Linked DNA regions of Homo sapiens: region 1 is linked to region 2. The links are contacts of gene promoters, found by promoter capture Hi-C in human tissues and cell types (Jung and others, 2019). All regions are on one chromosome and are shown on one strand. Each heading gives the region's core, a stretch centred on a gene start or on the middle of the fragment in contact. The rest is flanking DNA. Distances are from core to core; before and after follow the strand shown.

Evidence for each region. The method cuts DNA at HindIII sites, captures the fragments that hold promoters and counts their contacts. A contact is called where the count stands out against the background at its distance.
Region 1: a fragment that was not itself captured here is called in contact with the fragment with the promoter of WNT10A in region 2 in 1 of the 25 tissues and cell types used here (spleen).

Annotation. Positions count from the first base shown.
Region 1 is chr2:218,245,783-218,248,976 of GRCh38, reverse strand. The region is part of intron 8 of ARPC2 (actin related protein 2/3 complex subunit 2); the gene reads right to left. TRY-ATA1-1 (tRNA-Tyr (anticodon ATA) 1-1) reads right to left here and starts at 3,151; the gene lies at 3,059-3,151. The HindIII fragment of the contact is 7,344 bases long and covers 1-3,194 here.
Region 2 is chr2:218,879,059-218,882,191 of GRCh38, reverse strand. WNT10A (Wnt family member 10A) reads right to left here and starts at 1,340. Exons shown (of 4, transcript NM_025216.3): 1 at 1,084-1,340; 2 at 1-31. The coding sequence starts at 1,196. RefSeq lists silencers at 1,265-1,404, 1,425-1,634, 1,855-1,914. The HindIII fragment of the contact is 13,021 bases long and covers 1-3,133 here.

The DNA of each region.
Region 1 (3,194 bases), core at 321-2,820, 630 kb after region 2:
GGAAATGCAGCTGCCTGTCTTAGGTCCTTGGTGCTGAAATAGAGTAAACCTTCCCAGAAAACAGATGCCAGAGAATTTCCCATATTCTCACTGTGAAAACAGACAATAAGGTGTAAGGACCTGAACCCTCATGATAGGCCAGGCAGGAGGAGCTGCTCTGAATGGGCCTGACTGAAGTCCACCCTGTGACACCAGCCACCTAAAGACCTGTGTGAGGCTGGGCGCGATGGCTCACGCCTGTAATCCCAGCACTTTGGGAGGCTGACGCAGGCTGATCATCTGAGATCAGGAGTTTTGAGACCAGCCTGGCCAACATGGTGAAACCCCATCTCTACTAAAAATATAAAAATTAGCCACATGTGATGGCGTGTGCCTGTAATCTCAGCTACTTAGGAGGCTGAGGCAGGAGAATCGCTTAAACCCGGGGGGTGGAGGTTGCAGTGAGCCAAGACGGTGCCACTGCACTCCAGCCTGAGTGACAGAGCAAGACTCCATCTCAAAAAAAGACCTGTGTGCTCATCACAAAGTCCTTTGCACTACAGCAGGCCTGCATGCCCCTCTTGCCCTGGTTTTCTGGAATCGTTTTTACCTGCTGCACCTCCTCTACTCACTATCTGCAAAACCCCGTCAGTTGTCTGAAGTTTTCGTTGAAATGAAAAGGAATGCCTCCTAAGGAAGTGTGGAATTTCTGTGTCAATGTGCCCTGGCCTGAAAGTAAATGAACACCACAACAGAAGACAACTATACTTCAAAGAATCTAAGGTGCTTATGACTGTAAGTCTGCCATAATTTTATGTACCACAAGAGAAACATGCTGCCAATTAAAGTGTGACATGCTATGAATTGTAAGATGCATCCCAGCTTCAAAGACAAAAACTTGAAAAAAATGGTATAGCTGGCTGGGCGCAGTGGCACACGCCTGTAATCCCAGCACTTTGGGAGGCTGAAGTGAGTGGATTGCTTGAGGCCAGGAGTTGAGATCAGCCTGGCCAACATGGAAACCCTGTTTCTTTTTTTTTTTTTTAATTTTTTTTGAGACGGAGTCTTGTTCTGTCGCCCAGGCTGGAGTGCAGTCGCGTGATCTTGGCCTATTGCAAGCTCCGCCTCCCAGGTTCACGCCATTCTCCTGCCTCAGCCTTCAGGGTAGCTGGGACTACAGGCACCCACCACCACGCCCAGCTAAGTTTTTGTATTTTTTGTAGAGATGGGGTTTCACTGTGTTAGCCAGGATGGTCTCGATCTCCTGACATCGTGATCCACTTGCCTCGGCCTCCCAAAGTGCTGGGATTACAGGCGTGAGCCACCGTGCCCAGCTGGAAACCCTGTTTCTACTGAAAATACAAAAATTAGCCGGGTGTGGTGGCACACGCCTGTGGTCCCAGCTACCTGGGAAGCTGAGGCACGAGAATTGTTTGAGCCTGGGAAGCAGAGGTTGCAGTGAGCCGAGATCACACCACTGCACTCCAGCCTGGGTGACAGAGAGAAAGAAAAAAGAAAAAAGTGTATAGTTTAGATTTAATGAAATTTGGTAAATCAACAGATTCATCACCAATAAACAGGTTCACCTTTACCACTGAGGTGAATTAAATTACATTTCACAAAGGAGACATTCCAGTGGCATTGGGTGCAGTGTGAACAAGCTTATTAATTCCAAACTGTAAGCTATCATAATCAGCCAGTGCATGAGGCTGGAGCAACTGAAGGAAGACCTGAATTTATTCCGCGAAAAAGTGGAGTAAGTGGATCACGGCTGGAGCTTGGGCTTAATAAGCAAAAAACCAAGAATTGCCAAATGACAGAGAACCCCCATCTAGCTGCTTAGGTGGTTCTCTTCTTAACTCCTTTTTTTGGTGAGATAGGGTCTCACTCTGCCACCCAGGCTGGAGTGTAGTGGTGCCATCACAGCTCACTGCAGCCTCTACCTCCTGGGTTCAAGTGATCCTCTCACCTCAGCCTCTCAAGTAGCTATGACTACAGTCATGCACCACCATGCCTAGTTATCTTTTTTTTTGAGACAGTCTCCCAGGCTGGAGCGCAGCAGGATGATCTCGGCTTGCTGCAACCTCCACTTTCTGGGTTTAAGCAATTGCCATGCCTCGCTTGCCCGAGTAGCTGGGACTATAGACTATAGGCACATGTCACCATGTCCAACTAATTTTTGTATTTTTAGTAGAGGTGTGGTTTCACCATGTTGGCCAGGTTGGTCTCGAACTTCTGACCTCAAGTGATCTGCTCGCCTTGGCCTCTTAAAGTGCTGGGATTACAGGTGTGAGCCACTGTGCCTGGCCCCTTGCTTTTTGTAGAGATGAGCCTGCACCATGTTATCCAGGCTGGTCCCAAACTCCTGGACCCAAGTGACCCACCAACCTCGGACTCCCAAAGTGCTGGGATTACAGGTATGAGCCACTGTGCCCCGCCTATCCTTTACTCTTTTCTTTTTTCTTTTTGAGACAAGGTCTCACTCTGTCATCCAGGCTGGAGTGCAATGGTGTGATCTCAGCTCACTGCAACCTCCGCCTCCTGGGTCCAAGGGATTCTTGTGCCTCAGCCTCCCGAGTAGCTGGGATTACAGGCGCACACCACCACGCCCAGCTAATTTCTTTGTTATTTTTTTGGTAGAGACGGAGTGTTTCACCATGTTGGTCAGGCTGGTCTCGAACTCCTGACCTCAGGTGATCTGCCCATGTTGGCCTCCCACAGTGCTAGGATTACAGGCGTGAGACACCGCACCCAGCCTCAACTCTTTTTTTTTTTTTTTGGAGACAAGAGTCTTGTTCTGTTGCCCAGGCTGGAGTCCAGTGGCACGATCTCAGCTCATTACAACCTCCACCTCCCGGGTTCAAGCAATTCTCCTGCCTCAGCCTCTGGAGTACCTGGGACTACAGACGTGCGCCACCATGCCCAGCTAATTTTTTTTTGTATTTTAGTAGAGACAGAGTTTCACCACATTGGCCAGGATGATCTTGATCTCCTGACCTCGTGATCCACCTGCCTTAACCTCCCAAAGTGCTGTGATTACAGCCATGAACCACCGTGCCCAGCCAAAACTGTACTTGTCTCCTTCAAGCTGGAATCGAACCAGCAACCTAAGGACGTCTCCTACTGAGGAAGTAGCTATAGTCCTCTGCTCTACCAGCTGAACTATTGAAGGGACCTTAACTCTTGATATCAGAATTCAGTCTTATTTTTAAGAT
Region 2 (3,133 bases), core at 91-2,590:
GCGGAGGTCCAGAATGTCATTGGGTGCTGACCTGCAGACATATGGGGTGGAGTGGGTACGTGTTTTGGGGGGACCAGGAGAGCCCCATCTAACAACACACACTCTGTCCCAACGGCCATAATCACTCCCTCTTCCAACCTCTGCTTCTGAAGGTTGGGCCCATCAGTACACTCCTACACATTCCTCTCTCCTTGACCTCCTCACAATCATCCTGCCCAGTGCAACTCACTCAGCTAGCTGCACACCCACACAGGTAAGCGTGCAAATGCACACACATCCACCATGCTTGTGGCCACAGTATTTCCTATGCACATCCCCAGGAATAGATGCCCATACACACAGGGTTCCCCACAAGCCCACTCCCACAGATATGTTTCAGTCACATTCACATAGACACACTTCTGCACACATTGTGGTGGACACACAAACCCAACCCCAGCACACTTACGCACATGCACACTTCATCAGACATAGTTACAGACACACACACAAAGACACTCCCATTTACACATGTGTTCATCTTAACATACATTGACCCATGAGCTCTCACATGCACACATGGGCACACATACAAACTACTGTTTACCAACACAGTTTGCTGGGATCCTGGGCTCGATTGAAAACACACACACACACACACACACACACACAGCTCTTGCAGCTGCAGTCTCTCACTGACCCCACCTGGGCTACCCCCTTCCAGCCTCCCAACCCCTGCCCCTACCTGGGGCTGAGCTGCAGGAAGGAGTGAGGCAGCTTGTGCTTACTCCTGAGGTGGGGGTGCATTCCCCCAACAGGGCAGGAACTCCAGACTGGCACTTGCTCCCCCCCCACACACACCTCCCCTCCTAGTTGCCATCATGCTCCTGGGCACTGCCTTGTCTCCCTGGACTGCCCATATCCTGTCACCAGTCCAACCCCCTCCTATGAGGGAGCTCACTGCCTTTGGTTGGGCACCAGCACTTTCCTATGACCCTGTCCCTCCCTTCTTCCAGGGTCCTCTACCCCAGCAAGAGCATCAGAGGCCCCTGCAGGCCGGGGTCCCAACTCTCTAGGAGGGCGGAGCATGAGGTGAGGGCTCACCTGGGCATGGCAGCAGCCAGCAGCAGTAGGAAGAACAGGAGCACCCAGAGCGCTGGCCGCGGCTGGGGCTGGGGTCGGAGCCGCAGCCAGGGGCGAGGGTGGGCGCTGCCCATGGCGCGCAGGCCCTGACGGGCTGGGAGTGGGGGGCTCACAGCCCAGTGGGACTGGAGAGCCAGGGGCGCCGGCGCATGATCGGCGGGGGGTCGGGGCGGCTGCGACACACAGCTCCGACTCGGGTCAGGGCTCCCGGAGCAGACGGCGCCCGCCTCCCCGCTCCATGGGGCAGCACCCCCGGGCACCGCCCTCGGGGGGGGCGGGGGGTGAAGAGCGGGCGAACCGGGCACCTCCTGGCACAGGGGTCCGGGGAATTTCCCGAGGCCCCCCCGCGACAACTCCCGGTGCCTCTCAAGGGTAAGGGGGGCCCGGAGGTGCAGCGGGCTGGGGACGGGAGGCTGGGGTGCCGGGGAACCCTCCAGCGCAGCGCCGGGAGCCTGCGCTTCCGAGGGCGTGCGAGGCTGGCTGGCGGGGGCGGCGCTGTCTGTGTCGGGCCCCACTGCCTGTAGAGTAAGTGACTGTCCCGGCTCGGGGAGCTCTGCCGCCTTCCCTTTCCTCCCCCCACCCCCCCGCCATTTAGTGTCTCAGGGCTCTACCCCACGTGACGTCACGCGGCGGGGCGTGGAGGCGTGTACGAGTCCCGAGGCCACTGCGTCCGCTGGGGACTGGGGGTGGGAGCGTCCCTGCTGAGGGCAACAGAGGGAAAGGTGTTGGGGTCTGTGCGCGCGTGCACAGGAAGATGCCTGTGTGTGGAGCGCGCTGGGTTGTGTGGGGGATATGTGTTACCGCGAGGTGTGTGTGCCTGGCAGAGACGCAGCTGCTGGGGAGCGCCCCCATCCCACCCCAACACACACACCTGCAGGGGCTGGAGGGGAGGGGCTGGCCTCTGTGTTTCGCCTCCTCCGCCAGAGGAGGGACTTCCCCCAGGCCTGCCTGGTGTGAGGCAGGTGTGGGCTCCTGCAGAGGAGTTTGGCAGCCTCTGGTTTCTTCTCCCCTTTGCTGTGTGACCTTAAACAGGTGCCTCCTGCTCCTGCTCACGGAGACCTCCTCTGCCCCTTTGCGGAATGCGGCTCATGGGGACCACCTTGTCTCCTCAGTGAGCCCGGGGAGGCAGCAGTGTCAGGCCCCCAGAAAATGCTTGCGTAGGAGCGCCCGGGGTGGCACGTCCTGGGAGGAGGCGTTAGAGAGACTTTTAACCCTAGAAGTGGCCGTTGAGATAGTTTATTTAGCTCCCCTTTATTTCACAAGAAAATATCGAGGCTCAAAGAGGTCACACAGCAAATTAGCGGAAGAGCGAGAACCGAACGCAGCTCTCCTGACTCCCAGCGCAGCAGCTGCCTCCCCAACACTGAGTGTTGCCTGCCTGTGCCCGCAGATACTCTCAGTCTTGTCCTGGCCCTCCCTGGCCCCACCTGCACATGGTCCTCTAGGAGGTCCCTAATACCAGCCTCCTGGCTCAGGTCTACTTCTCGCTGAGATCTTCCTGTCCCTCCACCCCAACTGAACACTGGGCCCCTCCTCGATATAGTGCAAGTGTGCTGGGCCCAAGCAAGGGCCTGAGAGCCAGAGGGCAGGGGAAAGGCAGCTCTGCCGTCTGTTTCTGGTGCTAGCCTGGGCCCTGATAGTGGATCGTGCTCCTGCCCTGTGCCCTCGGCATCCTCCTCTGTAAAATGGGCACAAGCCTTTACACAAACATGCCCCTCTCTCTGAAGAGAGCCCCTGCTGGCTTAGGAACAAAACTATGGGAGCCTCTGGGCTCAGAGACAAAAAAGGCCCATTCCTGGAATTGCCCATCCCTGGGGAACTGAAGGAGGGGGTGGGGCCCTCCTTGTCCCCAGACTGTCAGGTGGTGGGGGCGGCCTGAGCAACAGCAGGCTGACGGCATACTCCCCCCTCCTTTCCCCCTCATCTCTGCCGGCAGCCACCGCAGCTGTCAGGAATTAAGGGCTTGAGGCTGCTGGGGGTGGGGGTGGGGCAGTGGGGGGGGAGCAGTCTG